Linked DNA regions of Homo sapiens: regions 1, 2, 3, 4 and 5 are each linked to region 6. Evidence: promoter capture Hi-C in 16 types of primary human blood cells and fetal thymus (Javierre and others, 2016). All regions are on one chromosome and are shown on one strand. Each heading gives the region's core, a stretch centred on a gene start or on the middle of the fragment in contact. The rest is flanking DNA. Distances are from core to core; before and after follow the strand shown. Region 1 holds the start of CEP55 (centrosomal protein 55). Region 2 overlaps NOC3L (NOC3 like DNA replication regulator). Region 3 has its middle 3.9 kb from the start of NOC3L. Region 4 overlaps PLCE1 (phospholipase C epsilon 1). Region 5 overlaps PLCE1 (phospholipase C epsilon 1). Region 6 holds the start of SLC35G1 (solute carrier family 35 member G1).

The links. The method cuts DNA at HindIII sites, captures the fragments that hold promoters and counts their contacts. A CHiCAGO score of 5 or more calls a contact.
Region 1: the fragment with the promoter of CEP55 here is called in contact with the fragment with the promoter of SLC35G1 in region 6 in 1 of 17 cell types (fetal thymus); the score reaches 5.6 in fetal thymus.
Region 2: a contact is called between a fragment that was not itself captured here and the fragment with the promoter of SLC35G1 in region 6, in 1 of 17 cell types (endothelial precursors). The highest score is 5.0, in endothelial precursors.
Region 3: a fragment that was not itself captured here is called in contact with the fragment with the promoter of SLC35G1 in region 6 in 3 of 17 cell types (fetal thymus, non-activated CD4 T cells and activated CD4 T cells); the score reaches 7.9 in fetal thymus.
Region 4: a fragment that was not itself captured here is called in contact with the fragment with the promoter of SLC35G1 in region 6 in 1 of 17 cell types (endothelial precursors); the score reaches 6.6 in endothelial precursors.
Region 5: a contact is called between a fragment that was not itself captured here and the fragment with the promoter of SLC35G1 in region 6, in 2 of 17 cell types (endothelial precursors and megakaryocytes). The highest score is 5.1, in endothelial precursors.

Annotation. Positions count from the first base shown.
Region 1 is chr10:93,493,840-93,497,913 of GRCh38, reverse strand. It overlaps CEP55 (centrosomal protein 55), which reads right to left and starts at 1,302. Exons shown (of 9, transcript NM_018131.5): 1 at 991-1,302. RefSeq lists a silencer at 974-1,483. The HindIII fragment of the contact is 5,966 bases long and covers 1-1,557 here.
Region 2 is chr10:94,340,990-94,345,258 of GRCh38, reverse strand. It overlaps NOC3L (NOC3 like DNA replication regulator), which reads left to right. Exons shown (of 21, transcript NM_022451.11): 12 at 326-406; 13 at 744-844; 14 at 3,514-3,586. Among named protein-coding and RNA genes, the nearest start is that of NOC3L, 20 kb to the left of the region's middle. The HindIII fragment of the contact is 3,075 bases long and covers 377-3,451 here.
Region 3 is chr10:94,364,702-94,368,967 of GRCh38, reverse strand. No RefSeq gene overlaps it. Among named protein-coding and RNA genes, the nearest start is that of NOC3L, 3.9 kb to the right of the region's middle. The HindIII fragment of the contact is 513 bases long and covers 2,302-2,814 here.
Region 4 is chr10:94,305,620-94,309,449 of GRCh38, reverse strand. PLCE1 (phospholipase C epsilon 1) reads right to left here. Exons shown (of 33, transcript NM_016341.4): 26 at 2,762-3,023; 27 at 751-869. Among named protein-coding and RNA genes, the nearest start is that of PLCE1-AS1, 20 kb to the right of the region's middle. The HindIII fragment of the contact is 1,878 bases long and covers 898-2,775 here.
Region 5 is chr10:94,324,198-94,327,997 of GRCh38, reverse strand. It overlaps PLCE1 (phospholipase C epsilon 1), which reads right to left. Exons shown (of 33, transcript NM_016341.4): 31 at 3,431-3,649; 32 at 2,894-3,106; 33 at 1-30. The coding sequence ends at 2,918. It also overlaps a transcript of NOC3L not described here. Among named protein-coding and RNA genes, the nearest start is that of NOC3L, 37 kb to the left of the region's middle. The HindIII fragment of the contact is 4,129 bases long and covers 1-3,800 here.
Region 6 is chr10:93,892,020-93,895,832 of GRCh38, reverse strand. It overlaps SLC35G1 (solute carrier family 35 member G1), which reads right to left and starts at 1,855. Exons shown (of 3, transcript NM_001134658.3): 1 at 1,622-1,855. The coding sequence starts at 1,799. RefSeq lists a silencer at 1,452-1,881. The HindIII fragment of the contact is 3,349 bases long and covers 119-3,467 here.

The DNA of each region.
Region 1 (4,074 bases), core at 53-2,552, 400 kb after region 6:
CTCCTGACCTCAAGTGATCTGCCCGCCTCGGCCTCCCAAAGTGCTGGGATTACAGGCGTGAACCACCGCGCCCGGCCACCTTTCCCTGTATTTCCTATTCCAGTCATCCACAGGGTTCCCCCAGTTCAAACCTTCCTCAGCATGCCTTCCCTCTGTGAACTCTTAACAAACGATATAGCTGCCCCACCCCCACCCCTACACAATCTAGTACCCAATTACACTTCCTGCTAACCTTTTATTTTTTCAATTGTTCAACTATTTTTTCAAGGACTGCACTTTGATTTTTGTTGTTGTTGTTGTTACCCACAGAGCCTAACAGCAAGCCCTCAGATATGATTGGTTGATTGGGGCCGGGCGCGGTGGCTCACGCCTGTAATCCCAGCACTCTGGAAGGCCGAGGCAGGTGGATCATCTGAGGTCAGGAGTTCGAGACCAGCCTGCCCAACATGGCGAAACCCTGTCTCTACTAAAAATACAAAAATTAACCGGGCGTGGTGGCGCACGCCTGTAGTCCCAGCTATTCAGGAGGCTGAGGAAGGAGAATCGCTTGAACCCAGGAGGCAGAGGTTGCAGTGAGCCAAGATCGTGCCATTGCACTCCAGCCTTGGTGACAGAGCGAGACTCCATCTCAAAAAAAAAGAAAAAAGAAAAGAAATGATTGGTTGATTAGCTGAAGTGACCTAAGTCATGCTGGACAGGTGACCAAACAAGCGCTTCCATCCAGTAAATGGTACAAGGCCTCAATTACAAGCCGCATCTTCTACAAGGCGACGCCAATCTTTAAAAATTCCCACATAAAATCTCACTTGAGGAGACAGACAGGAAAAGAGAAACTGCAAAAAAAGGCACAAGTTTTCTCACTTCTAAAATAAAGATGTTTGAGGAACACACAACGAAAGTGCCTGCCAATCGGAAAAAGCCGTCCTAACAAAAGACCTTGGGCAAGTCACTTGGCCTCTCTGCGCCTATCTGTAAGGAGATGATACCCACCGCCAAGTCCAAAGAAGCGATCGAAGAGACAACGGTCTTGAGGCGCCCAGCCGGGTGCCAGGCACGAAGTGAGCGCCAGGGAAAAGGACTGTTATCAGAGCGGGCAGAGATTGAATCCCGCGGACGCGATCTGCCCACTGACCTGCCCTCCCTGGCGGTCCGGACCGGCCCGGCCCCGGGGCTGCGGGTCCTGGCCGCCCCTCGCCACCCTCCGCGGTCGCCTCCCTTGGGCCAGCTAGCAGCTGAAGCGAAGCGCGGCGCTCGCGTCGGCCGAGTCACACCATCAGGTGTGGATGCCGCTTCCGGGAGTTTGAATCCCGCGGCTGCAGGGCGGGGCACGTCACTGCCGGCAGGGCGCGGCCCGCAAGAAGGAGGAGCAGCGCGCGCGCGGCGGGGACGCGGCTCCCCGATTGGCTGCCGCCTTTGAAGGGCGGAGAGTAAACCTGAGGGCGGGCCGAGAAGTGGCTGGGGCCGCGGGGCGGGACAGAGGGCGGGAACACTTCCTCCCGGGCCCGCCAGCTAATTCTGGGATCGGGGGTTCTCTGCGGGCTTAGACCTAAACAAGCTTGGTGTCTCGCAGTCAGGGGCTGGTTTTGTGTTTATACGCTTTTAGGAGAAAGCAAATTACTATTTTTAATGGGATAAAACCAGTGACGATGGACCGAGACGAACTAGTTCTGCGCTCTTGAGCATAGATTCTCCCTGTGTGAAGTGCGGCCCCTCCTGCCCTGGGACAACGGGATTTCACAAAGGAGCACAGCCCCCTTGTCATCCCCTCGGGTCTCACTCTGTCGCCCAGGCTGGAGTGGAGTGGTGCAATCATAGCTCACTGCAACCTCAGTCTCCCGGGTTCAAGCGATCGTCTTGCCTCAGCCTGCCGAGTAGCTGAGACTACAGGCGCACGCCACCACGCCCGGCTAATTTTTTATTAAAAAATTTTATACAGACAGCGGAGTGGGGGGGGGGGGGGGTGGTCTCACTTTGTTTCCCACTCTGATCACGAACTCCTGCCTTCAAGTGATCCTTCCACCTCGGCCTCCTAAAGTGCTGGGATTACTGCCAAAAATCAGCAGCACAGCAGGGAGTGTTAACGGGAGAGATGAGAGGCACGCCCAGGTTGAACGCTGAGATTATGAATGCTAGCGGACCGGCTTTCAGACCAGACTGCTACCCTCCAGCCTGATATCTATCTATTGATCGATTCTAGCTCTTGATTAGCCGCTTTGAGAACGTTACTGCTGAGAGAAGAAGCACATGAAATGTTTAGCAGGGCCTCCCTTTCTCTCCTAGACCCAGCATAAACTCGCTGGAGATTTAAAACAGTAGATACACAGTAGCAAAACATCCTAGGTACACAATATTGTACAAAGGTTATAAACTCTAGATTAGGACTTTCTAGATTTAATTCCTTACTGCCCTGACTAGATGTGTCTCCTTGGATAAATTTATTTAACCTATTTGAGCCTCGGTTTCCCGATGTGTAAAATGATGCAAATAATAATATTTACTTCACAGCTCGGTTATAAGGATTAAATGAGGAAATCCGGCCAGGTGGAATGGCTAATTCCTGTAATCCCACCACTACGTGAGGACGGGGAGCGAGGATTGCTTGAGGTCAGGAGTTGGAGACCAGCCTGGGCAACACAGAGAGATCCACTCTCACCCCACCCAATCCCTGTCTCTAATTTTAAAACTTTAAAATTTTTTTACATGAAAGAAATTCATGTAAAGTGCTTAACATTTAGTAAATGTTCAATTGATGTTAGCCATTGTTAAACAAAAGGCAACACTCAAATGTTACTGAATAGAATGGATGAGAAAACCATGTGGGGAATTTTAAAGAATCAGAGAAACAAAACCAAAACAGAATGCAAGATAACGTTTGGTACCTGCTTCCAAGGAGCTCCCATTTCTGAAGGGAAGGTAAACTAAAGTATCAAGTGGGATTAGGGTGGGAAAAATCAGGGCAAAAGATAAATCATCGTGTGAACATTATTCATTGCCCAGAGTTGAGGGGCAAAATTAATTTCCACAGAGATTTACAAAGATTCTTAAAGAGATATAGAGAAAAACATTTCCCTGTTCACCTTCAAGCCAAATGGGGAGCAAAAAATGGGGGAGAGGGAGGAGGGACCCTGGAGAGAGGTGGCACCTGGCGGACTGGCACCTGGGTAGCCAGCACCCAGGCCTGCTGTGCCAGACACTCCAATTCCACACCTGCCCTCCAGGACCTTCTTTTCTGGCTAAAGGTCGCCCTGTGAGTGGGGACCTTGAGGAAGAGGAGCAAACAAGAGGCTCATTGGCCTGGGGGGCTTGTTAAATTCCCTAATTGCCATTGCTAGCCCTGAAAATTAATGTTTGCTCTTTACAGATAGGAGCTGCCAGTCATGAGGTTGTGAAGAGCTGGTAGTTTCCACAAGATCTCACAAGTACTTTGATGTTGATAGTTCACTCAGGGATAGTCTAGGATGAAGATTGGGAAACTCATCTTTATTCATGTAAAGAGAAATGTAACAGCCAAGCAGACTAGATATTTATCTAAGCAGGTGAGCTCATTTTCTTCCCAGTAGGAACCTGTTCTTGGGAAACCAAAACAGGATCAAAAGGCTGCTGAATGGGTTTAAAGATATTAAATGGAAATAGGGAGGCTGTTGTAGGTTAGAGCACCTATCACCTTTGAAGGTTACATCTTCCAAGGCAATGCTAATGAACACACAGGGCCTCACCAGCGTGTAGATCTGCACTGTCCAATACAACTTTCTGCAGTGATGGAAAGGTCCCTCCTGATCTATCCAATATGGTAGCACTAGCCATAGATGGCTACTGAGTGCTTGAAATGTGGCCACCGTTATTGAGAAACTGAATTTTTAACTTTATTTAATCTTAATTTAAAAACTAAAAGTTTATTTATTGAAAAACTTTTGATTTTCTTATTTTTTTCTTTTTTTTATTATTATTATTTTATTGGAAAACTTTTAAGTATGTTTGGAACAACCTGGGTACAAAAACCTGTTTTTTCAATTGTAAATTTTATGAAATCTACATATAGATCAAGTATTTCTGAGGAAGATTTTATGTCCAAAT
Region 2 (4,269 bases), core at 665-3,164, 450 kb before region 6:
TCCCAGATATCTGCTATTCAGAATGAGCAAATATTAATAGATTTACTTTAGTTTTTTTCCTGGAAAAGAAAGAAACCATAGGTGAGAGAGTAGGAATTTCTTTTCTCTCTCCAATCTCATTCTTCTACCTTCTTCCCAGGAGACACCATCTTTAATTTGGTTTGTATATACTTCCCGTCCATGTTTCTCTACTTTGTTTATATTTGCATTCATAGACAACATGTGGTATTACTGTATGTGTTTTATGACATTTACGTATTCTGCCTCTGCTTTTTTCACTCTGTGGTATATGCTCTTAGATTTTTGTTTTTCAATCTATTTTCAGTGGAAGAAAGCAGAAGAGAAACTAGAGCGAGAGCTTCGAGAGGCAGAAGCTTCAGAGAGTACTGAGAAAAAACTTAAACTGGTAGGCAGTTTCATATTCTGTTATGCTTTTAAAATGCGTTAAGTTGTTTAAACTAGAAATTTATTGTTTCAGCTTGTAGCTGTGTAATTTTGGTTTCTTTCATGAGGCTTAGATGTGTGACTTTTGTGATGTGCGGGAAACTGTGATGTGATCAGTGCTAGTTTTATGCAGTCACAGGGTGTATATCTTCATTCTGTTTTGTTAAAAATTTCAAAGATTGCATTGTGGGGAGGGATGGGTAGGGAAAAAAGTTAACCTGTTGAAGTGATACTTATGCTCACTCAGGAGAAAGCATACCAGGTTATCCTAAAGTCATTTTGTCTGTCTCCTCTGCCAGCACACAGAGACTCTGAATATTGTGTTTGTAACCTACTTCAGAATATTGAAGAAGGCCCAGAGGTCACCTCTCCTGCCAGCAGTTCTAGAAGGTCTTGCCAAGTAAGGGCTGTGTAGGTTGAAATCTTTTAGATTCCTTCTAAATAGGAAAGACCAAAGAATTTTCGAGAGTTCCCTAATGATGGCCCATTATCCTCAGTTCTCATTCCTTTTCTGATTGTCACCAGCCTTTACTTGAAGCTATTCATAACAGTGGGCTTTTTTGATTTTCTCATCTCAAACCTTTTATTTTTAAAATCTCCTTTACCAACTCCTTCTTTCTGCCTACTAAATTCTAGGTGTTCCTAAGGTTAAATCTCTCAGTTCTTGACTCTTTCTGCACTGTGTAGTCAATTGCCCATCGTCATAGTTTGAGTGGATCATGCAGATGACTCTTAAGTCTATTTTAACCCGGCTGTACATCATTTCTCTAGTTCTGTGTAATGTGTTTCTGCTAAGATAGATCTTTTGGTGTATTCACTCAACACTAATGGCCTTGTCAGGATGTGAGCTAGAGTAAGGGTTGTGGTTGTCATGATAGCGTTCCACAATTTTTTGAGGTGGTATCCTATAGAACATTGCTATTCGGTAAAAATATAATGTGAACTTACATATATAATTTAAAATTTTCTATTAGCCACATTAAAAAGATAAAAAGAAACAGGTGAAATTAATTTTTATATATTTTACTGGATTTGATTTATCTGAAGTATTTTAACACAATATTAAACATTAATGAGTTGTTTGGTGTTTTTTCATAACATATTTTCGAACACTTATATTTTACGCTTGTGTCTTAATTTGGACTAGCTACATTTTAAGTGCCTAACAGCCACATGTGGCTAGTGGCTACCATTGTTGGGCAGTACAACTTTAGGAATAGAGTTGGAAATAGGACTGATGGCTAGAAGATATAGAAAAGGCAAGTTCTGTTTATCATAAGAAATTACTTTCTAATAACTGGAGCTATTTGGCAATGGTATGCATTTCCTTATATGGTGATACGGTCCTTGTGGTTAAAAATCTTCAGAGAGGCTGGTCAGAGAAGGGATTATTCCTACATTGTGTAGGACTTGCTGTTTTTATTTTTGTTTTTAAATAGAGACAAGCTCTCACCATATTGCCCAGGCTGATCTTGAACTCCTGAGTGAGTCATCCTCCAGCCTTGGCCTCACAAAGTGCTAGGATTACAGGCGTGAGCCACCATGCTCGACCCAGCTATTTGTTTTTTAATAACTAATTCCTTTATTTAAAAAAGTTTAAAAAATAATATATGGTCATTTAAAAAATTTAAATAATGCAAAAGAATATACAATTTAAAATTGCAAGCTCCCCCTCCTATATATGTATGTAGTCTGTCTGCGTGCCATCTGCCACCTTTTTTTTTTTTTTTGGAGACACTGTCTTGCTCTGTTGCTCAGGCTGGGTTGCAGTGACGTAATCTGAGCTGACTACAACCTCCACATCCCAGGTTCAAGCAGTCACCTGCCTCAGCCTCTCGAGTAGCTGAGACTACAGGCATGTGCCATCACACCTGGCTAATTTCTGTATTTTTAGTAAAGATGGGGTTTCCTCATGTTGGCCAGGCTGGTCTCGAACTCCTGACCTTAGGTGATCCATCCGCCTCGGCCTCCCAAAGTGCTGGGATTACAGGCATGAGCCATCGCACCGGGCCTGCCTGCCATCTTTCATGCAAATGGAATCATGCTATGTTTAGTGTCCTGTAACTTGCTTTTTTTTTTTTTTTTGGTTTTGTAAACAGTTACTTTTGGTACCTCTCCCTTATCACATATATATCACTTAATTTTTAAAAAATTTATAGTGCTCCATTTTATAGATATATTGTACTTTATTTGGTCAGTCGCCTATTTGCACTGGGAATACTTGCGCACGTGTGTGTGTGTGTGTGTGTGTGTGTGTGTGTATCTTCATGCATGTGTGTGCATGTAGTGCCAGATCAAAGGGTATGCTCATTTTAAATTTTGATAAATAATTGTCAGATTGCTTCTCCAAAAAGTTGTACCGATATGCATGGAATATGTCACTCATAAGGTCTTTTATTCTTCTAAGATTTACATAGATCAAAGACTTCTTGCTAATATTGAAGAGATGTCCTGACTTTAACCTACTTCAGTGTCTACTATAGTATATGGAGTAACTCTCAAATTTAGCAGCTCATATGATTCTTCTTTAACCCTATTGGGTGGTCTCAGTTATTTCTACAAATAGAGGCCCAGGACAGTGAAGTGAGTTACCTAGGATCACGCAGGTAATTAAGAGCAGAGCCTGAACTAGATACTGGGGTCCAGTATTCTTTCCATTTTATCCTTAAAGCTGTCATAAGGTCCATATTCTTGTAAGTAGCAGAATCTTTCCTTGTCTCTCTTCCCACCACCTGTTTTCTTAGAAGCCGATCCTGCCGGATACCTCCTAAACTTTCCTCAGGAAGTTGTTTGCTTCTAGTAATTTCTTTCTCAGTGCAGAAGGATTTTTGAAATATTTTTGGTTTGTTCAGTGCCTTATATATTTCTACTGAGTTTAGTGTTCAATGGTGTATGAATTGTTGAAGAGGCCAATCTGAATTAATGAAAAGTATCAATAATTGCCATGTCTTTCATAGCTAACATTTCGAAATAAAGAATATTAAAAATACAGTTTTAAAGTCAAGCTTAATTTCTACCAGCTTTATTTCTGCTTTTAGTTCACTGATTAACTGTTTTGTTTGATTCCAGGTTTGCTCACCTTATAAATGTGGAATTTTTTGATGATCTGTTAGTAGTTCTTCATACTCTCATTGAGTCTGGTGTAAGTAATAATAAATTATTTTTTAAAAGATATAAATGGTAATTACTATTTTAAAAATTTTTCAGGTTTATTGAGATATATTTTGTATACAGTAAAACCCCTTTTAGATGTACAGTTTATGAATTTTGACAAAGGCCTATGATCATATGATTACCACCACAGTCAAGATGTAGAACGTTTTCAACCATTGGAGAGTTTTAAGCAGGAGGGTTGTCTGACCTGTTTTCTTTTTTTTTTTTTTAAATTGATGCATAATAGATGTACATGGTTTCAGGGTATATGTGATAATTAAATATATTCATATAATATAGTTTGTAAATATTTTACTTGGGATATCAGTCACCTTAAATATGTGTCTTTATGTGACAACCATTCAAATTCTTCCCTCCTAGCTATTTTGAAATAGATAATAGATTATTGTAAACTATAGTCACCCTGTAAATCTGCCTCATACTAGGTTATCTTAAAGATAACCTTTATAGGTCTTTTTTTTCTTTTTTGAGATAGGGTCTCACTCAGTTGCCCAGGCCGGAGTGCAGTGGTGCAATCACAGCTCACTGCAGCCTTGACCTTCCAGGGCTCAGGTGATCCTCCCACTTTAGCCTTTTGAGTAGCTGGGACTACAGATGTGGGGCACCATACCTGGCTAATTTTTCTATTTTTTTGTAGAAATTTTTTTTTTT
Region 3 (4,266 bases), core at 1,309-3,808, 470 kb before region 6:
CCTTTCTGGTGGCTGCTAGAATTCCTTGACTTGTCTACATCACTCCAATCTCTGCCTATTGTAGTCACATTACCTTCTTGTCTGTCTGTGTGAAATCTCCTGTCTCTTAAATGGATTCATGTGATTGCCCACTTGCATAATCATTTCATCTCAAAATCTTTAACTTAATCACAACTTTGCCTGTATAAGTTAATATTCATGTTTCCAGGGACTTAGCCTTCATATATTTGGAAGTCATGTTTCAGCCTACCACAATTGCTATAGTTATCCTTCAATTACCATTTGTTGTTGATTGAGGATGCTTCCAGTGGAAAAATCTGTGGCACTTCAGACCTGCCCTACAGGGGTCCAGAAAAAGTCCTTAAGTGAAAATTTGCAAGTGCTCAGAGGACTTTTTCAGCATGTATGGAACACGAAGTACTGAGGATATGTAGACGAGACACCAACAACATTTGTGTAGGGCCCCCAGGAGACCTCCCGCACAGCCCCTTGCGGCTTTCTTTCTGTGTCCTGAATAAAAAATTAGAGTGCCTTGACTGCTCTGTGACCTAGCCATCTGCAGGTTCATCCCAGCAGGCTTCAACACAAACTGGGGCTTTGAACAGTCCCAGGCACTGGTAAAAGTATCTAAGTTGTTGCCCAAAACACTGAAAGTACTGGCTCAGGCCCTGAGTCACATACCTTAAACCCTCATATAAACTCCGTACCCTGACCCCCTCACTGTGGACATACCTAGGTCCACACCCCTTTTCTCTCACTGTCCATCATGAGGATTGCCACAGCACTCTGTAGGTAAGTTCTCCTAACAATTGTTTTGGGTTGATCACCCCGGCATTTAATGCTTCTTTCGGCCAGGCACAGTGGCTTACGCCTGTAATCCCAGCACTTTGGGAGGCCGAGGCGGGCGGATCACCTGAGGTTGGGAGTTCGAGACCAGCCTGACCAACATGGAGAAACCTTGTCTCTACTAAAAATACAAAATTAGCCGGGCATGTTGGCACATGCCTGTAATCCCAGCTACTCAGGAGGCTGAGGCAGGAGAAGCACTTGAACCCGGGAGGCGGAGGTTGAGGTGAGCTGAGATCGTGCCATTGCGCTCCAGCCTGGGCCACAAGAGTGAACTCTGTCTCAAAAAAAAAAAAAAAAAAAAATGCTTCTTTCTATGGCATCCCAACTGGGGGCCTTTTCTCAAGACAGTTTGGGACACACCGTTGTGGGAACTTCCCTGTCGCTGCTTTTGTTTGTTTTTGAGATGGAGTCTTGCTCTGTTGCCCAGGCTGGAGTGCAGTGGTGAGATCATAACTCACTGAAGCCACTAATTCCTGGCCTACCACTGCTTTTGGGGTGATTCAAGCTGTGGGTTCAGCAGGACAAAAAATCTGCTACATCATTATTCTAATGTTTGCTATTATTTTGGTTTTTGGTTAATACTTTTAATTTAATAATTAATTATAATTATTAGCTATCTTAACCTAATTTTCTGATGCACCACAATATAAATTATTTGTACTACCTGAGTGACCTTGCTTAGAACAAATTATACCATCTATTTAAACTTTGTCCTTTCTCCTGTTCTCATTTAGGTATACATTGCTCTATGACTTCCTCTAAAGCAGCTTGTCTTTATTTTTTAGCACCTATGTGATCTTTTCTATTATTCTCTATTTGGTAATTCATAATTATCATTCTCAACTACACACAAACACACACACACACACACACACAATTTCTCAACAATATTTTAACATTTTCAAAGGTAGAGACCATGATATACGTATTTTCAAATCCTTTCTTTTTTTTTTTTTTTGCGATAGCCTCACTCTGTCGCCCAGGCTGGAGTGCAGTGGCACCCTCATAGCTCACTGTAGCCTTGAACACGTGGCCTCAAATAATCCTCCTGCCTCAGCCTCCCAAAGTGCTGGGATTACAGGCAGGAGCCACAATGCCTGGACAGTAATATCTAAATATTACTTAAATATTACAGTTATGTTTTTTTAGCTCTCTGATAGTGAGTTGTTTTTTTTTCCCCTTGGCTGTAGCACTATCTCAAAGGTCTGAACAGAGATTCTAGACTCCTTCCCTCCCCTGGATTTTATTTTACTTTAGTTTAGTTTTGTTTTTGTTTCCCCTGAATTTTAGGAAGGGAAACAGAAAGAGGCCTAGGCAGAGCCAAGCACTTCGACATAAGGGAGGACTGTATATTGTACAATTCCAGGGGCGTCATTCACAGTTTATTTGTAAAGATAGCAAACTTTTTTTTTTTGATCTATGACAGTGAAGTGTCTTAAGGACATGGAAGCTTTTTCTAATTTCCACAGGTCCCCTTTGGGTGAGCTGTAGGGCAACCTGCCTGCCTCTTTTATGTCTAAGATGATTGACAGTGATAACATCCAATTACGATGTTTATTTTCTAATTTGTGATACTGAAGTGTGGGCTTTTTCTATCGCCAAACACTTACTACAAAGTGACAAACATTCATATAGTCCCTTATTATAACTTATGTAAATTATCTTGTGGTACTGGAAAAAAAGAAGCCTTGTTTATTATTCCATGTCCACTTAGTGACAGTTTTCAAAACTGTTTGTTTATAGAAAATGGATTAATTATAATACGGTAAATGGCCAAGAAAGCCCTTGCTTGTTGACAAAGATCTCTGGAGTATTTGGGATTCTAGCTGTGGGTAAAAGAAAGAAATAGGGAATGTTACAAGAGGTACAAGTGAAAAAAAATAGTTCTTTTGAACATGGTAATGTGAAGTCCCATGGTTAGGAGGTAGAGCTGTCCAGGAGGCAGATGGCTATAAGAATGAAGCTTGGGGAAGAAGTATAGGCTGGACAAAATCTCTTTGTAATAGGTAGATGGATGAAATCACGCTGGAAAAGCAAGTAGAGCAAGAAGAGTGGTAGACAAGTGGGCCAAGAGTAGAACCCTGAGAGTCACCTACATTGAAGAAGCCTAAGGAGGAAGAAATGGAGGTAGGAGGAGAACCTGGGGAACAGGCTATTAGGAAAGCCAAGGGAATCAACATTCTAATGTGTGAAGGGAGATACGCGTAGCATCAAAGGCAGCAGAGAGATCTAGTGAGGTTAAATGAGAAAGAAGTAATGTAATTCCGTACACAATTAGAAAAAACTCACAACACTTTGGAGGTTCTTGGTGACCTTAATTAGATCAGTTTCAGCGGAATGTTATGGGCAAAGCCACGTAAGTTCTTAACAGACTTCCTGAAAGTGCTAACAGGAATCTCCAGGTACAATCCCTGTGATACTAGTTTGGGAAAGCCCAGTGACCCTTATCAGCTCAAGTGTCCAGGAAAGCTCTAAGGGATCTAAGAGGATCTGGAGTCCAAATGGGGCTTGGCAGTGGATTGAGTGAAGAAGAGATGACACAAAGGTGGACACACAGAATTAAGAAACCAGCAAGATTAAATGGAATTAAAAGGAATCATATAAACTTCCATTTTTGAGTATTTTCGAACAACAGGCTGCTCGAATTCAAGATGGGAGAGATTTAGCTTGGCAACAATTGCTTTAAAATGATCCAGAGATTTTAGTTGATTGTAAACTTAAAATGGGCCAAGAGTATGACACAGTTCTTAAAAAAGCTAGCACATGCTGGGCATGGTGGCTCATGCCTGTAATCCCAGCACTTTGGGAGGTTGAGGTGGGAGGACTGCTTGAGCCCAGGAGTTTGAGACCAGCCTAGGCAGTATAGCAAGACCAAATCTCTGCAAATAATATAAATTAGCCGGGCATGGTGGTGCGTGCCTGTAGTTTCAGCTACCCAGGAAGCTGAGGTGGAGGATCCCTTGAGCCTGGGAGGTTGAGGCTGCAGTGAGCTGAGAGCTGCCACTGCACTCCAGCCTGGGCAACAGAGAAAAAAAATAAAAAAAGGCAATCTTTATATTAAAAAAGAAAATACTAGCACAGGATTGGGCTATGACAATAGAGAAGAGAAAGTGGAGACGCTAAAAGAATACTTTTTTCTGGAAGTAGGGACAAGTAGGAAAAGAGGCACATAAAAGAGCAATTAAAGGGAGATAAGTTTATTAGAACAAATCTTAAAAATGGAAGAGATTTGAATATGTTTATAAGCTGAGGGGAAGGATCTATTAGAGAGGGAAAGAACACAGGAAAGAAGGGATAATTAATGATACAAGAATCTGATGAAGCTGGGAGGAGTTGGTTTTGAACTGGAATGGGGATGCCTCATCCTTGGAGAGACTGGAAGGAAGGCTAAAAGGATGGGAGTGACTGTAGATATGT
Region 4 (3,830 bases), core at 587-3,086, 410 kb before region 6:
CTGAGGTGGGAGAATTGCTTGAGCCAGGAAGGTCGAGGCTGCAGTGAGCCAGGATGGCACCACTGCACTCCAACCTGGGTGACAGAGTGACACTGGGTGACAGAGACACACTGTCTCTGGAAAAAAAAAAAAGCAGATTCTGCAACTATGGCACTTTCTACAGTGTCCTTCTTCCATTCTCAAGGGAGCAGCTTCTGCATCTGCCAAGCACTGAGGTGCAAGTTATGCATCGCCAGCAGAGCCTATTGCTCACTCCAGCCTTGCTCTGCCTGTGACATTTGCCCCTGGACTGCTGAAGAAACAAAATATTTTCCTGGTTTAACCTAAAGTTTCTAGAAGTATTGGAAATGCTTCCTACTAGGCTTCGCATAATAAGCCTCTTCCTCACTTTGTTATATTTGGCTTACTTCCCTGATAGACACTGTAATATATGGGCTTTGTTACTGGAACTTGGGTGTAAATCCTGGACTGCTGCTTGCTAGCTGTGTGACCTCAGATGTACTTAGCTCTACCTTTCTCATCTGCAAAATGGAGATGATACTAAATAGCTACTGCCTGACGTTATTGAGAGGACTGAGTTAGTATATACGTAAAGTGCTTAGTCAGTGCCAAGTGTCAGCCATTATTGTTATTAATTTCCATAGCTACCTAATTAATAACTCACACCGACCACTTTGCTGGGCCACAAAAAAGCCCACCTTCAGTGTAGCAATCCCCATAAATATGTTGAGTGAAACAGAACTTCATTACCGAAGAGGCTGACATGGTATTGCCAGAGGAATTTTCTTCCATCCTTCTGCTGTTAATGAATAAACTAGAAATCTCCAAGACTTCATTGTGAAGGTTTCGCAGCTGAAGATGTCGATATCCTGGAGTAATACAGAATTGGGAAAAGCTTGTTAACCATGGCTACTGAAAAGAAGATGCTCCTGGAAGTCGGCAAATGACAGGTAGAAAGACCTTAAAATGGGCAGGGATGGCAACAGGCATGCAACCAACAGGCGTCTTTTCGCCAAGAGAGTGCTGCCCCCTGAGTTACCCAATGGCAATTAATTTGTCCAAGTACTGTTTCCAACTTAGACTCAAACAGAAAACCTTAAACTCAGACAAAACCTGATCTAGTAGGAAAACCTGATCACTAACAGTCCCTGTGAATGAAGCACTAACAGACTAACAGTCCCTGTTTTACAAATGTTCCATCTTAGAGCAGCTTTAGTGATAATAGAACATTCCCACAATGGAAGATTGGTTATAATTTATGGTATGACTGTAAGTGTAAGTATAGAATGGAATAATACACAGCTGGTAAAAATGGTAATGTACATGTATAGTTATTAACATGAAAGGTTGCTCACTGTATACATTAGTAAGTGAAAACCAGTAAGTTACAAAACACAAAGATTAGTAGAAAGCCTGTTTGTTAAAAATATATCTGTATGCTCATGTGTTACGTACATGGGGAGAGAAACAAAGCCTGCAAGACTTATACACCAAGAGTGACTGTGTTGGAGAGATGGAAAAATGGATAATTAAAAAAAAATTGTTTTTGTTTCTATGTACTTTCTCACATTTCTATAATAACAGTTATGGGTCTCCCCCGACCCTATACTCCCCATTCTTGTGTAGAAGTCCTAACCCTCAGTACCTCAGAATGTGACTATATTTGAAGAGAGGGTCTTTAAAGAGGTAACTAAGTTAAAATGGGGTCCTTAGGGTGGGCCTTAATCCAGTGGGACTGGTGTCCTTATGAGAAGAGGGGATTAGGACACAGACAACATAGAGGGCTGACTGTGTGGGGACCATCTGCAAGCCAAGGAGAGAGGCCCTAGAAGAAACCAAACCTGCCAACACCCTGATCTCAGACTTCCAGCCTTCAGAACTGCGAGGAAATACATTTCTGTGGTTCAGCCACCTAGTCTGTGGTATTCCATGATGGCAGCCTGAGCAGACTAATTAAATGACCACGGGCTACTTGCACACAGAAGAGAAACAGGAAAAGATCACAAAAGTAGGAAACTGTAATGTGTTTGTGAGCTCCAAGGATGGCAGCTTGAGTGTAGCTGGGAGAGGAAGTGTGTACTTAGAATATTGGTGCTCAAAGGAGACCATCAGAGCCAGCACACCTGGAAATATGTTAGAAAGGGAAACTGTCAGTCTTCACCTGAGGCCACTGAATCACGATCTGCATGGTATTACCAGTCCTAGCAGATTCCTGTGCACATCAAAGTTTAAAAACAATGCACAGGCTGAAATTCATCAGAGTGCCACAACAAAGCCAATCTACAAGCAAATAGCTCTAGCCTTTGCCCAGAATTCTCCATTCCCCTCTTCCTGCACCTGAAACCCAGCCCCAGCTTCCAAAACTGGACTTCTGCCAGGCACCGACTCCAACTGCACGGTCACTTATGCCACCACCACACCCGACCCCTCTGACATGTTTCCTCTCCTTATTTCAATCCCTGCTTTCAAACTGCCAGCAGTGCCGTGGGTAGCAACAACCACTGCTCCTGACATCAGCAAGCATGGGTGAGGCTGTACTTTACAAGGGATATTGTTAATACCTCAGATTCTTAAAAAATGTAAAAGAAAAACTTCTTTTGAGATGTGCTTCAAAAGTGCTCCAATTTGTATTTCCTTTTGCTTCTTAATTCAACTTCTTTATAGGAAAATGTCAAACAGAAAAGAGAGAAGAGTATAAGGAAATTCTGGCATCCATCACCTAGCTACAACAATTATTAACATTTGGACAATTTTATTCTACCTCGTTTTAAAGCTTTCAGTGGAATGATTCTCTGAGCAGTTACCGCTGAACTATTGTTTTCCACAACTGCAAAACGAAGAAATACAAGATCTTCGAAGTGAACGTGGAACAGAAACTGCTCGTTCCACATGGGGTTCAGGGTGTTTCGATGGATGGGCTTTGTGCGGAAATGGCAGCTGTCCAGAGGCATGCCCAGGACGTCGACTTCAATGCACGGGCTTCCCATGCTATTACTGGGGCACACATTCTGACCAGAGACAATCTAGGGTGAGGGAGACAAAAGGGATCAAAGTCACCGAGGATAAAAAAGAAAGACAACCTCTGCACCTCACTGCTTCCCTCTGCAAAGGAATCCCAAGAACACTGGAATGGACAAAGTGAATGATGAATAAAACTGTTTAAAAAGTAAGTGATTGTAGGGCTGGGCGCGGTGGCTTATGCCTGTAATCCCAGCACTTTGGGAGGCTGAGGTGAGCAGATCACGAGGTCAGGAGATTGAGACCATCCTGGCCAACATGGTGAAACCCTGTCTCTACTAAAATACAAAAAATTAGCTGGGCATGGTGGTGTGCGCCTGTAGTCCCAGCTATTAGGGAGGCTGAGGCAGGGGAATTGCTTGAACCCAGGAAGCAGAGGTTGCAGTGAGCTGAGATCACGCCACTGTACTCCAGCCTGGTGACAGAGCAAGACTCCATCTCAAAAAAAAAAAAAGTAAGTGATTGTAACTGGGTAATCACACGACTGGAATCATATGAAAAGCCTATTTTGTCAACATCATTCACTTAACTGTAAGCTTTCAACTATCAAAATGTTCAAATATCTTCAAAAACCAAACAAGATGAAGTTAAATTTCTCACAAGAGAAGACTTTATGCAATATAATCATAAATTTGTTACTAATATTCTGTTCAAAATGCCACAGGATTTTATAACTTCAAAATCTTTTTCTTGAATAGTTTCATTTTGGAGCAAGTCACAGACGTGTTAGGAACTAATTCACAGCTTTCTGTAAACAGATAAAACTACCCTCGCCTCTATCTAAAAAATAACAAATAGGAAAGGGGCTACTG
Region 5 (3,800 bases), core at 586-3,085, 430 kb before region 6:
CTCTTTAACTTCTTGCTTAAAGATCTTCACCTGTAATGTTGTATACAGAGGCTTATTAGTATACTGAAAATGAAGAAACAGAAACACTTGCGGTATACCAAGGGTTCAGAGTTTTCCAGCCACAGCTCTAGTGGCTAGGTTTGGGGAAGAGACTGTTTCCTCTGTACTCACAATGTTAGAACATGATGTTTCTAGGAAGTAGAACATTAGGTTATTTCTGCCTTGGAAATAAATATTTCACATTCTTTAGAAAGTTTGTTTTTTTAAAAAAGATCACATCAAATAAACTGTTCAACTTTAAGAAAAGGTGGAATTCCTTCAGCTAACTACTACTTCAGATAGATGAATATGTTCTTTAAAAATCTGTAGATTATTGAAACTTTAAAAGGGATCATTTTAGAACAAATATGAAATATGTTACCTAAAAAGTGGAAACAATACTAAACTAACTTTCTTTTTGCTCTCTCTCCCTCTTGTCTGGCTGGACTGCTGCCTCCAAAGTTCAAGCAATTCTCCTGCCTCAGCCTCCTGAGTAGCTGGGACTACAGGAATTTTTATATTTTTTGGTAGAGATGGGGTTTCACCATGTTGGCCAGGCTGGTCTCGAACTCCTGACCTCAAGTGATCCACACACCTCGGCCTCCCACAGTGCTGGGATTACAGGCATGAGCCACTGTGCCTGGTCCTAAACTCTAAACTTCTTTTCTTATGAGCTCTTCTTTTCTTTTACAAGTGCTCTTTCTTGAAAAGACCATTGTAAAGGAGGTCATAACATGGGATGTCAATTCACATAGATGCACCAATGACTATAAGAGAAGCCTCCCTAGCTTTTGTTTTGAGACGGAGTCTCGCTCTGTCGCTAGGCTGGAGTGCAGTGGCGCAATCTCGGCTCACTGCAACCTCCGTCTCCCGGGTTCAAGCGATTCTCCTGCCTCAGCCTCCCGAGTAGCTGGGACTACCTGCGCACACCACCACGCCCAGCTAACTGTTGTTGTATTTTTAGTAGAGACGGGGTTTCACCATGTTGGCCAGGATGGTCTCAATCTCTTGACCTCGTGATCTGCCCGCCTTGGCCTCCCAAAGTGCTGGGATTACAGGCGTGAGCCACTGTGCCTGGCCAGGCCTCCCCAGCTTTAAGCAAAGCTGTGAAGTTAACAGAATGATTCTAAATATCTGCTTGCTTAGAAAAAGAAAAAAAAAGTCATGTGAATCCATTGGTCAGAAAAAATAAATATCTACTTGCTACAGGACAATAGAATCTAAAGGCAATCATCTAAATCACTATCAATCACCCTCCCCCAGTCTCCTAAAATATAAGCAATTAGCAATGTTCATTATAGTAGGCATATTATTTTTAAGTCAAATTTCTAATGGAGTTGTATTCTTCTGTACTTAAGAAGTAATCTTGTAGCACATATCGGGCTCTTTATATGTAGAGAAGTATATGACCAATTTACTAGCTTTAGTGTAATTTCACCTCATTACAGAAGTTATAGAGGTGTGTATAACATCACACCTATGATTTATTTGATACTAACTTCTGGATATGGAAAACAATATTTAAAATTTTGACCACTGCAGAGTGTAATATAGGACATCAGTTATTTTAGGAGTTGCTCTTTAAATGTGGAAACATGATCTCAATGTATTGGGCCTTCTTTTGGGCTGTTTTAAGTAAAATTTGGCTCTGGGAAGAGGCATCACTGAGTTCTTTAATTGTGAGTTTCTGCAGTTTGGCAGTTTTATATCAGAAGTTCCTCATTGTCATAAAGGCAGATGGTGAAGCTCTGTCACATAAACAGCAATGCTTTCACTGTGCTGTTCATCTTGGGAATTTTAAATCTGTGAACTACCATGGAACAGGTGAAAAGTGGGCTTTAATGAACCCTTAGGTTCATTAGGAAACTAAGCGAAAAGGAGAGACTTACCACTGGTTCCCTCACATGCTTTTATTCAGGTCTCATGTAAATAATTTGCTTTAAGATAGAATGAAATTTGTGTGACTATCAAGCAGTCAGTTTACTGCATTTCCAAGATTGAGGCTGTTATGTTATTTTGCTTTCTTTTTAACCACATCCCGGATGCCAGATTTTTATTTTTTTAATTGAGGCAGAAGGAGATGAGGTTGTTGAAGCTACATCAAACCTAAATTAGAACAGTAATAAAACGAGAAATCCAAAAGAATAAAAGCTGAATGATCCATAGAGCCCTTGAAGAATGTTTCTGTCAGCTATTAATACTGAAGACAGTTGTCTGATGAAATAAGGCTATCAGAGTACTTTGGGCAAGTTGATTGACTTCTTGGGAGCTTTGCTTATTTATCTACAAAATAAATAAGGGGTCTAAAATTACAAAAGCTCAAGTTACATATATATATTTTTTTTTTTCTTTTTTTTTTTTTGAGACGGAGTTTTCACTCTCATTGCCCAGGCTGGAGTGCAATGGTGTGATCTCAGCTCACTGCAACCTCTGCCTTCCAAGTTCAAGTGATTCTCCTGCCTCAGCCTCCCCAGTAGCTGGGATTATAGGCATGCACCACCATGCCCAGCTAATTTTGTATTTTTAGTAGAGACGGGGTTTCTCCATGTTGGTCAGGCTGGTCTTGAACTGACCTCAGGTGATCTGCCTGCCTTGGCCTCCCAAAGTGCTGGGATTACAGGCATGCGCCACCACGCCCAGCCTCTTTCCCTTTTTCTTTATAGGCGGTGTTCAATAGCATATCATGTTACACATATCTTCAGAGCCCTTTTCCTGTTTTAAGGTCCCATTCCTACCTGCCTTCAAGGGACATCCTCCTGTTGGAAAAGATAAAAGACATTGTACTAATTATGCCTTCCTTACAAAGTAGTTTAAGTTAAGCCCTGTTCCAGGATGGTGCAATGACTTACTATACCTGGGTTAAACATGCTGCCCTTAGTCACTGTCGGTAATCCATTGTGTCACTGGAGGACAAGCCACCCACAGGTTTCTCCTCCTTGGTTTGGATACTTTCTGAGGTCAAGAGCTGAGAAGGTGATGTAAGTCCTCGGGGCTGTTTAGTTGACTTGGTGAGCTTCTTGAGTTCACTTGCGAAAGAAATGCCTTTCTTTTTATCTTCTCGAGATGCCTGTGGGAACAAAGAACCTTCCATTGGTGTTAGGTTAAACTCAGGTTCCTCTGTCACATGACACTATTTCAGAAGAGCGCTTTCCTCTTCTCTCTAGAGCTTTGGAGAGAGTAGGGCTGAGGAGCTCCCCTCTAGGACTGCTTAACCGCAAGCTCGGCCACATGTTTTTTCACACAGTGAAAACAAAGCCAAACAATTTTCTCCTAACTCCATTCCTTGACTCAGGAACTTTCTCCTAAATTTCACCAGCTTCCAGATCTGGCTACAGTGTAATTATGGGTATCAGATAACTTAAGAACAGAGCAAAATAACTTTAAACTTTACCTGCACCTGCTCCTTTAGCTTAAGGATGAATTTTCCTGCACCTTTCCACTTGCTTTGGGCTTGAAACACACACTCCTGATCCAGAAGGACCCGCTGAGAGGACTTTGGTGTGGTAGTCTTCTTGTTGGTAGTGTCTTTCACCACCTCTTCCAAAAGCACATAGTCGCTTGGATTGGGGTTGCTCAGGATGCTGTAGGAATATTTGGCTTTGCATAAGGTCTGAAAGGTAAGTTATGATCAACTGAATAAAGACACAGAATCTCCAACATTTGCATTCATTCTATATGAAACTTTAAGGTGGAAAAATGGCCCAGACTAGAGATGAAGGGGATCTTCCAGATCATTTCATCCAACTCATTTTGCAGTTGTA
Region 6 (3,813 bases), core at 606-3,105:
CCACACTGTCCCTGAAGAAAGTAAGGAGATGTCTTGGGACAGCTGTATGTGTCTGTTAAGGTCATCCAAGAATGTAAGACATATGGGTAACAGTTCCAACCAGAACTTGAAAAAAGCTTTGTTGAGATAAGCAGTTAGAACAAGAGGTGTCACAAAGTTCAATGACAACAGTAAAGTGTTTTTATGTCAATTTTCTTTCCAAAATATTATCTTGTCACCTTACAATAACTAAGTCTTACTGGTAGAAACTTTCTTTGAAGTTAAACACCCACAAGATTCTTAGATACACTCACGTAAGTTTCTCATCTTGCCATGAGCTGCCTGGGAGTAGAGAATTCCTCTTCCATTCACAAAAAGGGGAAACTTTAAGAGTTTGCATGGACTGATTCGGCATGCCACCAGAAGGACATTCACCCAGAGGGTGATAGGTGAGAAACTGACCTTTTCAAAGGCTGCTTATCTGTTCAATTCAGCCTGGCATAACCCCTGTTCTAGAGGCACCAGCCCATTTATAAATGATCACAAGTCTGATCATTTCGGTTTGCCTTTAGGACAGAAATGGAGCAAGAATAGTCTTCCTAGAGTCTGTCTCTCTAACTTGGGGAAAGTGCACAAAGGGAGGAGGGGAAAGCGCAGTGAGAGGAGAGGAACAGAAATCCAGGGTCACACTTAGGGGAGGTGACCCAGAGGACAAGGTGGTGCAGGCCGTGTAACTGTCCTAAAAAGAGATCTGCCTATTCCCTTCTTCTTGCAGGAAGCTGCTCCTGGTAGATGGTCGACTTCTAAGAGGAATGTGCTTGAAGCAGCACTTGTGGCCAGTGGAAAGGGCCCTAGGCCGGTATATGGCAAGCTGGGATCCTAACCCTGGTGCTCCCTGGACATGCGCCCCATCTCACCCCCACGTTCCACATCTTGGAGGAGACAAAGCAAACGAAAACCCAAAAGCCCTCACCTTCCTGGGCCTCACTTTGCTCATGTGTCGAAGGAGGGGGACTGAACATAAAGTGTTCTTCACGAGGGGTCCCTGACTTTGGGGACGGGGCTGTGAGCTTCTTAACAAGATATGCCTTGTTCTGCATCGTTTGCTAAAAAGTCCTTGTATCCCTAAAGGTTAAAAACTAGCGGTCCCACTTATCTCTGCCTTTCCAAGATTCTAAAACTCTAGGACGAACATTTTTTCTAGACTCGATGCTTTTCAGCTTCCTTTTCGGAGAGAACCCTTAACCACCGGGATCACTTTTCAGGGTCAGCTTCCTCGCAACGTCGCCCCACTGCAGGATGGCCTCTCTCGCTGACCCCCCACCTACGACCTAGGGGAGGGTACGCCAAACTGCAGTCTGACTCCACAGCCCTGCCCCGACACTAATTACAGGAGCAGCCTCGGAATCCCAAAAGGACTGCTAACAATCGGAAAGTTTCTTCCGTCTTAGCGCCGGCTGGGGCGCCGGGAATTCCGCTTTGCAGCCCCCCAGCTGACAGCTCGAGGGGTTTCCCGAGCCCCGGGCAGGGTGGGGACGGAGGCGCGGCGGGCACTGTGCCCGGGTTGCGGGGACCCCAACCCGCCGGCGCCCGCTCGGGACCCCCGAGCGAGACCAGAGCCCGATCCACACCGCGCACTCACCCGGCTCGGTGCGGGAGCAACACGGCGAGGAAAGGCAGAGCCAGCACCTACCGCGGTCTGGCGCCCCAGCTGCCTCGGCGGCCGCCGGCTCCTCAGTGGCGCCCGGGGGTGCATCGTCCGTTAGCGGCAGCCCGGGCTCCTGGAGCTCCGCGACCCCGGTGCTGTCCTGAGGCCGCATCTCGCGGCACGCGCTCTACCAGCGGCCGGTGCCGTCTGGCGCCAGCAGCAGCGCCTGGGCTGCCGCTCTTCCGGCGGGCGATGGCGCCCATGCGCATGCGCGCCCGGCCCACCCGCACCCTCCCCCAAGGAGACCGCGCGCGTCCTCCGCTGGCCTCTTAACCTGGGGAGACCCGCTGCCTCCCTGGTCGGGCTGTGGTGCCCACAGCTGGCTCTAAGGCGTCCAACCCTCTGCTGCGTTCAGGCTACATGGCCCAGCTGCTTGGAGCCATCCTTGGCAAGTCACACTGAACCTGTCTGTCATGGCACAGACAAGGAGGGGCGCTGGGTTCCCAAGCCCTGGCGCCCGGGGGTCCTGTGGCCTCCTTTTCAGGAGGCTCAAAGAGTGGGCGTTTTTTCATTGATGTAACCACGCATTCAGCACCTCTGTGATACCCCGAAGATTTTACAAAGCACCATGCTTGTCTTTAAATGGTCTAGGGTTTTTATGTTTTGTTTTGTTTTGTTTTGTTTTGTTTTGTTTCCCGTGTTGTCCCTTTGCTGCTTACCAAGGAGGGTAGAATTTTGCTGTTTTGGGAAATATTTTTAAGAAAGAATTAGTGTGTAATTATAGGAAAATATATCTATAAGACTGACCAGAACCCATTTATATGTTCTTTGCATTCTTTGCAAGAGTAGGCATGCATTATTGATCTTTGGTTTTCTTTTCTTAAATGGAAATATCCTAATTTGGCCAGATGTAAGATTCAAGTAATCTGATGTAATTAGACCTGGTAAAATATATTCTTTGGCCCAGGATTCACTAACAGCCTCTTTTTGTTTAGCTAATAATTCTTCTTCCATCTCTTTGCTTGCTTTATATGTGGAAGAACAGTCTCTGTGCAAGGATGAACGTATCTAAACTTCTAAGTCCAGTGCCAAGCAGATCACCAAAGGAGAGTGAAGTTTGCCTTTACTCAGACATTTGCACATAGTGATCCACAGCTGAAACAGTTTTAGACTTGAAGTCAGGAATCCTAGGTTCTGGCCCTGAGTGTGTGACCTCAGTCACCACTGTACCCCTCGAAGCCTTGATTACCTCCTTTATTTAATAGCGATCAAGTATTTCCCTTCCTGCTTCGCAGAGTAGTTATGTAAATAAAATGCAATGATGTGGGCAAAAGCATAATATCACCTGGAAAACACTATGTTAGAAAATCAAAGTGTGTTTTAAACTAGGGTCAGCATATAATTTATCCTCCAAACTGGACCTTTTTTTTTTTAAGAGTAAAAGGAGGAGCTCTTTTAAAAGTTACACAAGGGAATAGGCATAAACTGGGACTGTCCTAGGCAAACTGAGACAAATGGTCACCTGAATTCTAACTTGATTAACACATACTTTTGCCTTGTCTTAAAAGAGAATTTAAGGCTGGGCACGGTGGCTCAGCCTACCATCCTAGCACTTCGGGAGGCTGAGGTGGGAGGATTGCTTGAGCTTAGGAGTTTGAGACCAGCCTGGGCAACATAGACCTTGTCTCTATAAAAAAAATAATAATACTTTTAAAAGAATTTAAGGCTACTTACAAAAATATCTGTAACAGGTTTTGTTGTCGTTGTTTTAGATAGGGAAATTTCAGGGAAGGATGGTAAGGGTGGTAGATCATGATTATAAAGCAAGAACCAGGAAGCTTCCTCAAATATCTGGGAAGTCAAGTGCAGTTTCACAATTGCATTCTAAGATTTCGATATGGAAAGGGTTTGAAGAGTCCCCTCCTCTTAAATGGTGAAGATTATGGCTAGGAAGTGTGGTAAAGAAGAAAGAAGTGTGATGATTTGAGAAGGAAGTACCCTGACTGCTCCACTTTCAACACTTTCAACACCATCCTCGAAAAGGGAGAAGAAGAAGAGAAGAAAATGGGTACTACACCAGTTATTAAAGGTGGTGAGATGATTTCATACCTGCTGTTTATTCCCTTTAACTTCCTTCCCCTCCACTGCTGACCTTCATATATAAATGGTATCAGTTATATTCATTC